Regions from separate parts of the Homo sapiens genome. Here region 1 is linked to region 2. The links are contacts of gene promoters, found by promoter capture Hi-C in human tissues and cell types (Jung and others, 2019). All regions are on one chromosome and are shown on one strand. The core of a region is centred on a gene start or on the middle of the fragment in contact, and the rest is flanking DNA. Distances in the headings are between cores, read along the strand shown.

Region 1 (5,472 bases), core at 914-3,413, 250 kb after region 2:
AAAAAAATCACCCTAAAATTCACACAAAATCTCAAGGGACCCTGAATAACCAAAAAAAATTTTGAAAAGGAAGAATAAAGTTGAAGGAGTCACACTTTCTGATTTCAAAAGATATTACGAAACCACAGTAATCAGAACAGTGTGGTACTGGCATAAAAACAGATAAATGGGCCAATGAAATAGAATAGCCAAGAAATAAACCCTTGTATATATGGTCAAATGATCTTTGACAAGGGTGCCAAGATGACTGAATGGGGAAAGAAAAGTGTCTTCAACAAATGGTTTTGGGAAAACTAGATATCCACATGCAAAGGAAACTGGGCCCTTATATTACACCATATATAAAAATTAACTCAAAATAGACTAAAGACCTAAATGTAATACCCCAAACTATAAAACTCCTAGAAGAAAACATGGGAGGAAAGCTTCATGATACTGGATTTGGCAATGATTTCTTGGATATGACACCAAAAGCATAGGCAACAAAAGGAAAAATGGAACTTAAAAACCTTTGTGCATCAAAGAACATAATCAAAATGAAAAGGCATTTTCTTCTGCCTATGGAATGGGAGAAAATATTTAAAAATTATATATCTGATGAGGCATTAACATTTAGAATATATAAAGCACTCCTGCCACTCAACAACAAAAAAGTCAAATGACCCAACTTAAAAAGGCACTTGAATAGGCATTTCTCCAAAGATACCCTAACTCATTTCTCTCAAGTTCAAAGTTCAACAGGTCCCTGGAGCAGGGGCACAATGCTGCCAGTCTCTTTGCTAAAGCATAGCAAGAGTAACCTTTACTCCAGTTCCCAATAAGTTCTGTGAAAGAAAAATACACTTTGGGGCCCCAAAATTGCTAAGCTAAAGGGAAAAGTCAAGCTGAGAACTGCTTATGGCAAACCTGCCTTTCATTCTATGCAAAGTCATCCTTATGCACAATGAGATAAATGCATATCTGATTGTCTCCTTTGGAAAGACTAATCAGAAACTCAAAAGAATGCAATCATTTGTCTCTCACTTACCTGTGACTTGGAAGCCCCCTCCCTGCTTGAGTTGTCCCACCTTTCCAGACAGAACCAATGTTTATCTTACATATATTGATTGATGTCTCATGTCTCATGTCTCCCTAAAATGTCTAAAACCAAGCTGTGCCCCAGCCACCTTGGGCACATGTTGTCAGGACCTCCTGAGGCTGTGTGATGGGTGTGTGCCCTCAACATTGGCAAAATAAACTTTCTAAATTTACTGAAACCTGTCTCAGATATATTAGTTTCACAGTACCTCATCTTCATCTGAGACCTCCTCAGCCTGGACTTCACTGTCCATATCACCATCAGCATTTTGGTCACAACCATTCAAGAAGTCTGTAGGAAGTTCCAAACTTTCTCCCATCTTCCTATCTTCTGGGCCCTCCAAACTGTTCCAATCTCTGCCTGTTATCCAATTGCAAAGTTGCTTACACATTTTCAGGTATCTTTATAGTAATGCCCCACTTCTATAGTACCAATTTTCTGTATTAGTGCATTCTCACACTGCTATGAAGAACTACCTGAGACTGGTTAATTCATAAGGAAAAGAGGTTTAATTGTGCTCACAGTTTTGCAGGCTGTATAGTTTTCTGCTTCTGGGGAGGCCTCAGGAAACTTACCACATGGCAGAAGGTGAAGGGGAAGCAGGGACATCTTCACATGGCCAGTGGGAGTAGGAGGAGGTTCTACACACTTTTAAACAAGCAGATCTTGGGAGAACTCTATCACAAGAACAGCAAGGGGGAAGTCCACCTCCATGATTTAATCACCTCTCACCAGGCCTGTCCTTCAACACTGGGAATTACAATTCGACATGAGATTTGGGTGAGGACACAGAGCCAAATCATATTACTCATAGAGACAGAAAATAGATTAGTTACTTCTAGAGCTAGAGGTGAGGCCATATGTGGGAGATGGAGAGAGATGGCTAATGGGTACAGAGTTTCTTTTTGGAGTGATGAATATATTCTAAAATTGATAATGGTGATGGTTACACAACTTTAAAGAAAGTAAAAACCATTGAATTGTACAATTTAAGTGGGTTGAGTTGTGTGGTATGTAGATCATGTCTCAGTAATACTGTTTTTTTTGTGTGAGTGGAAAAAAAGATATAAAGGAGTCAGACTTTAGGGAGATCAACTCAAATATCTGTGTGGCATTTAAAGGATTTTTAGGTTTTTAAAGAAAAGAAAAAGCATGTAAGATTGCCAGTTTGTAGCTATCTGTTCATGGTGGAAAACAGTAACTTTTTCTCATGTTCATCCTAGTCACAAACATTGTGATGTTACTTCAGACATAATCATTCTAAAAGGCAGAGATAACTTCAGTTTTTTAAAGATAAGGAGTGCACACTTGCAGGAATTAGTTTGGGGACTAGAACTAGATGGGGTGACCTCATCATTGTTGTTTCATTTAAGGGTACAAAGTGCTTATTTTTCCTGACTCTGGTATTTCATAATGGAAGCAGGGCAAAGTGTCAGTTGGGCTTCCACACTGGGAGCAATAAGAAATTTCTAGAAAAACATCTGAGATGTTTCTGTAAATAGCAGAATTAGCATGTGTGATAAACTAGTGGTTTTTACACTTTTTCGTTCATGTGTTCCCTAAAATAATTTAGAATTCTTGACTGAAAATTCAAACATATATAAAAGTAGAAGCAGTAGTATAATTAGCACCAATATACCCATCACTCAGATTTAATGACTCTCAAGATATTGCCATTTTTGTTCCTTCCTTCTTTTTCTTGTTTTCTTTGCCAAAAGATTGTAAAGCAAATCCTGGACATCGTTAGTTCTCCCCATACGCCTCAGTACACATCTCTAAACACATAATTTCTTAACCACAGTGCCACATCACATCAAATAGTAAGATATTTTTGGTTGCCTCCAAAATGTCTTCTTATAGTTGGTTTATTTGGATCAGGATTCAAACAAAGTTTAAACATTACTTTTTAGTTTTATGTCTTAAGCTTAAATATCTCTTACTCTAGAGAAGGCTCCTGTTTTTTTTTTTTTCTTTTCATACCATTGACTTGTTGCAGGAATGGCTGTCTTACAAAATGTTCTACATTCTGGATATGTTTGTTGGCTTCCTTGTGGTGTCATTTAACTTGTTCATTTAACTAGAGCATGCATTTTTCAACAGAGATGATATTGGATATTTACTAGAAATTTACCTTCTTTTTTTTGTTGTTGAAACAGGATCTTGCTCTGTTGCCCAGACTGGAGTGCAATGACATGATTACAATCATAGCTCGCTGCAGCCTTGACCTCCTAGACTCAAGTAATCTTTCCACCTCAGCCTTCTGAGTGGCTCGGACCATAGTTACATGCCAACATGCCTGCCTAATTTGTGTATTTTTTGCAGAGATGGGGTCTCACTATGCTGCCCAGGCTGGTCTCCTGGGCTCAAATGATCCTTCTGCTTTGGCCTCCCAAAGTGCCAGGATGATTTTCTTTCTTCATCTTGTATTTCTGTTTTATGTTTTACCCCAGTTTTATGTTAACGTTATCCTTATCTTTGAAAGTATTTTATTGATCATACTTCTTTGCCACAAAAATACTGACTGATATGGCAGGTTGCTAGAGGTTCCCCAATGACTTTCTCTCCTTGTAGTATTAAAACTGCTGATGGGGCTGGGCGTGGTGGCTCACGCCTGTAATCCCAGCACTTTGGGAGGCCAGGGGGGCAGATCACCTGAGGTCAGGAGTTCAAGACCAGCCTGGCCAACATGGTGAAATCCCATCTCTACTAAAAATACAAAAATTAGCCAGGTGTGGTGGCAGGCACCTGTAATCCCAGATACTGGGGAGGCTGAGGCAGGAGAATCGCTTGAACCTTGGAGGCGGAGGTTGCAGTGAGCCGAGATCGCACCATCACACTCCAGCCTGGGGGACGAGAGCAAGACTTTATCTCAAAAAACAAACAAATAAACAAAACAAAACAACGACAACAAACTGCTGATGGAATGGATCAGGATCACTTTTCAGTGAATTTCTCAACTTTGGGGTTTCCAGACCATACAGGTAGGTTACATTTGAACACTAAACCCATGTAAAGGAATGCCTATGCTTACAAACTGTCATGGGAGAGTTTTCTTTTTTCTTCCCAGGGGCCAGAATAAGAAAGATTTCTTTATAATCCATCTTGTTACTCAGCCTTAACATTTGGAAGGGCTTGGCTTTGTGGAGAGGTCTAAATTTTAAATCCCTGCCTTACATGGGTCTAAGTCCTCCTCCACTAGTGTTAAACTCTAAACCCATGATTACTGAGATGTTACCAGCATAAGCATACTCTTATTTTCCAAATTTTCAGGCCCCTCTTTGTTTTTGCTTCTTTGGGGATTCTGTTACTCTCTTGCAAGCTTGGCTCTGAATTTGAAAATACGTTTGTTAGATTTTATCCATCATATCTAGATGTTTTGAAGCCCAAACATTTTCATATGATCTTTCTTGTGATGTTGCTTTGGAAGTCTCCATACTTCTCTTACATCTCTCCATCCTGATGTTTCCTCCTTCCGTTCTCCCCCTGCCCAAAATCTTTGTTCCATAGCAGGTACAATTATCTGCCATCATCAAACTGGTTACTTCTTTGCCTTAACTGTAACTTCGCTCTTCCCCTAAAGTCACTGTTTGTTCTTTTTTTTTTGAGACAGAGTCTCGCTCTCTTGCCAGGCTGGAGTGCAATGGCACCATCTCAGCTCAGGGCAACCTCTGCTTCCCAGGTTCAAGCAATTCTCCTGCGTCAGCCTCCCGAGCAGCTGGGATTACAGGTGCGTGCCACCACACCCAGCTAATTTTTGTATTTTTAGTAGAGACAGGGTTTCACCATGTTGGCCAGGATGGTCTCGATCTCCTGACCTCATGATCTGCCTGCCTTGGCCTCCCAAAGTGCTGGGATTACAGGCGTGAGTCACTGCACCCGGCCAACTCACTGTTTGAAATAGCTTTTTTTCCCACATAGCCCAGACTCTAACTTATTGTCTTTTTTCATATCTATACTCCCCCAGACTCACACAATAACCAGCTTCCTTTAAAACATGTGCTGAATTACTTTATATCCTTTCTGTGCACACTCCCTTATTTATTTAGGGCCTGATACATGGGAAATTTCAACACTTGGGAAATTTCAACATCTCTGTGGATAGCCTCACCCACACTCTAACCTCAAGGCCTCTTGCTTATTCCAAACATGAGGAGCTGTACAATCTACCCCACAATGGCCCCACTCCCAAAGCCACACCTGTGTTCCTTGTCATCACTTGAACTAGACTATTTTAGGATTATTAATCCCTAACATGTAATTTACTAACTGCAAGCTGCTCACCCTCCAACTGGCTCACAATCTGACACCTGGACATTTTACAGCCCTTTAATCTCTTCAAACATTTCCCAAGTCCATTAACTCCCTTGCATTGTTACACTTCTTTTTTGCCTCAT
Region 2 (5,268 bases), core at 1,074-3,573:
TCACCTGAGGTCAGGAGTTCGAGACCAGCTTGGGTAACATGGTGAAACCCCGTTTCTACTAAAAATACAAAAAATTAGCTGGGCGTGGTGGCATGCGCCTGTAGTCCCAGCTACTTGGGAGACTGAGGCAGGACAATCACTTGAACCTGGGAGGCGGAGGCTGCAGTGAGCCAAGATCACGCCATTGCACTCCAGCTCGGGCAACAAGAGTGAAACTCTGTCTCAAAAAAAAAGGCACTCTATAGCTCTGTAGCAGAACCCCAGTGGAGGAGGGGAGAGGATGTGTCTTTTAGCCAAGTTAGTTTCTTGGAGCCTCTTTTTCCTTATTTGTAAAACTAAGTTACTTATGCTTGCCTAGCCTGACTCAGGAGGTTGTCCAGAGGGTCAGATTAGATTATACACATGAAAGTGCCTTATGAACAATGTGATATCAATATTTAATAATACAAATGATAATTATTATCGCACCCATGGCCTCCTTTCTTTCCAGCCACTTGGCATGCCCCAGTAGTTCAGGGACAAAATTGTACAGATGGGCCTACTTGGTTCAATTTTTTTTTGTTTTTGTGAGACAGGGTCTCACTCTGTCGCCCAGACTCGGCTATCTGCAACCTCTGCCTCCCAGGTTCAAGCGATTCTCCTGTCTCAGCCTTCCGAGTAGCTGGGATTACAGGTGCCCACCACCATGCCCGGCTAATTTTGTATTTTTAGTGGAGATGGAGTTTCACCATGTTGGCCAGTCTGGTCTCGAACTCCTGACCTCAGGTGATCCGCCCACCCCGGCCTCCTAAAGTACTGGGATTACATGCGTCAGCCACTGTGCCCGGCCTACTTAGAGCAATTTTTGTTAAGTGTTTTGAAATCCCTGCATGAAAATGACTAAGGAAAAAAGTGCAACCTTCTCTCTATGACACCCAAATCCTAAACTCAAGATTTGTGGTTAGTTCTGGCCAGGCCGGTGGCTCACACCTGTCATCTCCACACTTTGGGAGGCCGACGCAGGCAGATCACCTGAGGTCAGGAGTTCAAGACCAGCCTGGCCAACATGGCGAAACCCTCTCTCTACTAAAAATGCAAATATTAGACGGCCGTGGTGGCGGGAGCCTGTAATCCCAGCTACTTGCGAGGCTGAAGCACGAGAAATTGCTTGACCCCGGGAGGCAAGGTTGTAGTGAGCCGGGATCCCGCCACTGCACTCCAGCCTGGGCAACAGAGCGAGACTTTGTCTCAAAAAAAAAAAAAAAATTTTTTTTGTGTGGTTGGTTCTGTTCTCTTTGGCACCCAGCCTGCTGCTGTGTTGTATTGTACTTTGTTGCCAATCTAGCAGAAGGATTTTAGTCTAGGTAGGTCACCTTTCCTTTAAACAGGCCAAGATATCAGGCCCTCTTTACATTCACATGGAAAAGACTCACGTCATATGTTAGTAATTATTTATCAGGTTAGGAACTGTCTGGTTAGACTTTCTTTGGCCCTGGTTATTAATTCATGGAGTCATAGACCGAAAGCCCATTCTGTAAGGGTTTCAGCTAACATGAGTCCAAGTCTTCTTTCTACATATGAGGAAATTGAATCCCTGGAGAGTTTAAGTGACTTGAGCAGTGCAAGCACCGCGGTACCGGGCGTGGAATCCATTCTTTTCAGTCATCCTCTTAACTCTTCATAAAATATGTTGCAAAGACACCATAAAACCATAGAATACCACCTGGAGCATGCTCCTTAAGTTATAAAGAAAGCAAAAATCTTAAAGGAGACAGCAAAGAGTTCGGGATTCCCGTGGACGAAGACCTTTTCAGCCCTGCTGTCTTCTCCGCCCCCACCTGTCTCGCTTGCTCTCACTTCCTGGGCTACCTGACTTAGCTCCGCCCCCTCCAGGTGGCTCCACCGCTTCCTGGTAGCCCAGCTCCACCCCCCCTACCCCCCCACCCCCCTACCCCCCACCCCCCTACCCCCTCACCAAGCGGAACCAATGTCCGTCCGCTACGGGGTAGGCCGGATCTTTCTCGCTCAGACTCATCGCAGCGGTGACTCGGCAGCAGCGTCTCGCGTCATCAGTGACAGCCCCGATCCTTGCTACGTTTGCGTCGCTCTGCCAGGAGCAGTCGCCTCCTCCTTGGCAAATAGTCCTCGGCAGGGTCCGAGTTCTTGGATAATTCGAGAGAAAAGGCACGATAAGTTGCAGTACGAGGACACGGAAACGACCAGGAGAGGAGGACAGGGAGCGAAGTTTCCTCAATAGTGTGTGAAGTTAGTTAAAAACTCCCTCCTTCCTCAGGATCCCTCCGCCTGCGGTAGCGGTGGTGAGGCCGAGGGAGCCGCCATTTTGGATGTTCGGTTCCTGCTGCCACTGCTGCCGCCGCCCCCGGAGCTGCTGGTTTCATTCGAGGTTTCGGGCCGGTGAGTGTCACTCCCGGCGCTGAGAGCATATTGCTGCTTTTGCCCCGCCGCTGCCGCGGGCGCTCGACCGGAAGCTTCCTTTCAGTTTCAGGGGTCCAGTCCCAGGCTGTGGGTGTTGAGAAGAGAAGACAGAGAAGCTGGGCCAGGAGAGGCCGGGAGCCCCAGGGGCTGCTCCGACTTCTGGAGGGCCGACCCCGAGGCCTCGGACCGGGAGGTTCCGCGCGCCGCGGCGTTCCGTGTTGTGGCGTTGCCCCGCCGGTACGGGCCTCCTTGAACCCTTGACTTTCTCAGGCTGCGATCTTTGAGGGCTCATTCAGGGAGCCTGGGGTTTAGCGGGGCGGGCCCCACCCCCGCGTGTCTTCTCTGAGCCACGTATCAGCGTTCTTGTGTCTTGTACCCGTGTCAGGTCTGTCAGATAACTCCCAGCATATCCAAATGCCCAGTTAATCGCTGCCTGCCCCTGCAGTGCCGTCCTCTCGGAACCGGACATCGGCCTCGCCTCTCTCTAACCTTCCGACCAACTTCTTTCCCAATTTTTCGTGTGTGTGTGTATATGTTGTTGTTTTGTTTTTTTCAACCTACCTGCGAGTATACTGTTTACCCTTTTCTCAGCTCCTGGCCCTGCGGACGTCAGCGTCTAATAATTCTCCCGGTCTTCCTGATTGCCTGAAAGAGTCGGGACGGTTCGGTTGATTGTGTTTCCCGGTTAGGACTCGGTGTAGGAGATCCATCGAACCACTCGCTCAGGGTAATGTTTATGAAGCAGATTATGTTTATGAAGCAGATTAAATGGCTTTTGGGAGGCAAGAGCTGTCAAATGTTTTCTCATATGTGGATTCCCTCCCTGTGCTGAATACTTAGCTTTTTGGTGCTTACTGACACTTGTGTGGTATTTTTTTTTCTCCCCTATTATATATCCCTGAGCACGGAAATCTGTCCATGGAGAAAAATATTAATCTGAGGTAGGTAGAAAGGAGAGTTGGGCTGCTTTACAGTGATTAGTTAACAGAAGGGAGGAGTTAGTGCTTTCTTAGTGACCTTAACTTTGAAGTGTTTGTACAGTAATGATCTTTGCTGACTGATTCTAAAAAATACTTGTAATGATTTCATGTATTGGGTTTTTCTGGGGATAGCTGAATTTTAAATATTCACTTCCACCGTTCCCTAGAATACTTGTCAAATACCTAACTTGTCACACACCCTAACTTTCACGTTTGAAAAATATGAACCCTCTAAGTACTCGTAATCTCGTCACTTTTATTCTAAAGGCATGTTTGCAGTCTAGCATGCTTGAATAAAAAGTATGTCTTTATTTTTATTTATTTATTTTTTGAGACGAAGTCTCCCTCTGTCTCCAGGCTGGAGTGCAGTGGCACGGTCTCGGCTCACTGCAACCTACGCCTCCCGGGTTCAAGCAGTTCTCCTGCCTCAGCCTCCCAAGTAGCTGGGACTACAGGCACACGCCGCCACGCCCGGCTAATTTTTTGTTGTTGTATTTTAGTAGAGATGGGGTTTCATCATGTTGCCCAGGCAGATCTCGAACTCCTGAGCTCAGGTAATCCGCCCGCCTCGGCCTCCCAAAGTGCTAGGATTACAGGCGTGAGCCACCGTGCCTGGCAAAAAGTATTTCACAGTTATTCACTGATACATTTCCTACGTTTCAAGTTAGGCGAGTGTGATTGAATCACCCTTATTTCATCTCAGCCTGGGTTTTCACATCTGCAAAAGAGAAATTAACTTATTTGAGATCACAGTCTAGTGGTTGAAGTTTAAATTTATAACTTGAATTGAGTCAAGCTTTTTAATATTGCTAAGCCACTTATAGATGCATTATTATTATCAGGTTATTGAAATGAGATTGTAGATAAATTCCTCTATAGGTCATATGATGTCTCAGAAGAAAACAATATTTTCAGTTTAAATACTCAGTGATCTTGTTATTTAAGCAGATTTTTCAAAAATATATTAGTTACTATTAGATACGTGAGTTCTGTATTACCCTGAAGCAATGGAATTTTCTCTTTTGGTTTAAAGGAACTGTCAAACACTGAACACCTATGTAATGCTCACTCATTTAGTAAGTATGCCCTCGCAGTTACTACTGAAATGTTCCATTTCTGACTTAGACTTTTCAAGTAAGGTGTTAGAAGAGCTATCACATAGATGTTAGTTAACTCAGTGTTTTTCATGCTTTAATATATTGGTATTTAAATGTCATTCAGGCGGGCGCTCAGTGGCTCATGCTTGTAATCCCAACACTTTGGGAGGTGGAAGGTGGATCCCTTGAGCCCAGGAGTTGGAGGCCAGCCTGGGCAACCTAATGAGACTCCGTCTCTACCAAAATATTTAAAAATATTAAACTTTTAAAAATTCATTCTTAGATAGTTTGCATTCACTGTAGAAAGGGTCCTTTTGCCTTAACAAATTCCTAGCAAAGTGTTGTTTAGTGCACCATTGATCAGTGCATATTTGAATGTCTGCTTTGCGTTTAGGAAACCTCCGTTTTCTTTTGGGGGCAGTTGCTTGTTCTTTGGTCTGACCTCTGTCATTGATAGCAGTTCTAGATTTGAGGGCAGATTTTAGAGTGAAACTTTAAAGTACAGAATTTGCCAGGAATGCCTTGGTGATATTTCACCCCAGTGTTTATTTAAAAAAGGAGTTTTAAAAATCAGTGGTATGCAAACAAAACCAACTTCTTTATGATTTATAAAAACTCTTTTTTTTTTTTTTTATTATTTTTATTGTTTGAGACAGGGTCTCACTCTGTTGCCCAGGCTGGAGTGCAGTGGTCTCAGCTCACTGCAGCCTGGACCTCCTGGACTCAAGCGATCCTCCTGCCTCAGCCCTCCACGTAGCTGGGACTACAGGCGTGTG

What was found. Contacts are between HindIII fragments. The study calls those that stand out against the background at their distance.
Region 1: a contact is called between a fragment that was not itself captured here and the fragment with the promoter of AP1G1 in region 2, in 1 of the 25 tissues and cell types used here (thymus).

What each region holds. Positions count from the first base shown.
Region 1 is chr16:71,555,396-71,560,867 of GRCh38, reverse strand. No RefSeq gene overlaps it. Among named protein-coding and RNA genes, the nearest start is that of TAT-AS1, 6.9 kb to the left of the region's middle. The HindIII fragment of the contact is 5,914 bases long and covers 1-5,120 here.
Region 2 is chr16:71,805,889-71,811,156 of GRCh38, reverse strand. AP1G1 (adaptor related protein complex 1 subunit gamma 1) reads left to right here and starts at 2,323. Exons shown (of 23, transcript NM_001128.6): 1 at 2,323-2,394. LOC124903714 (a long non-coding RNA gene) reads right to left here and starts at 2,199. Exons shown (of 2, transcript XR_007065110.1): 1 at 1,955-2,199. RefSeq lists enhancers at 1,272-1,351, 1,912-2,601, 2,545-3,192. The HindIII fragment of the contact is 19,553 bases long and covers 1-3,330 here.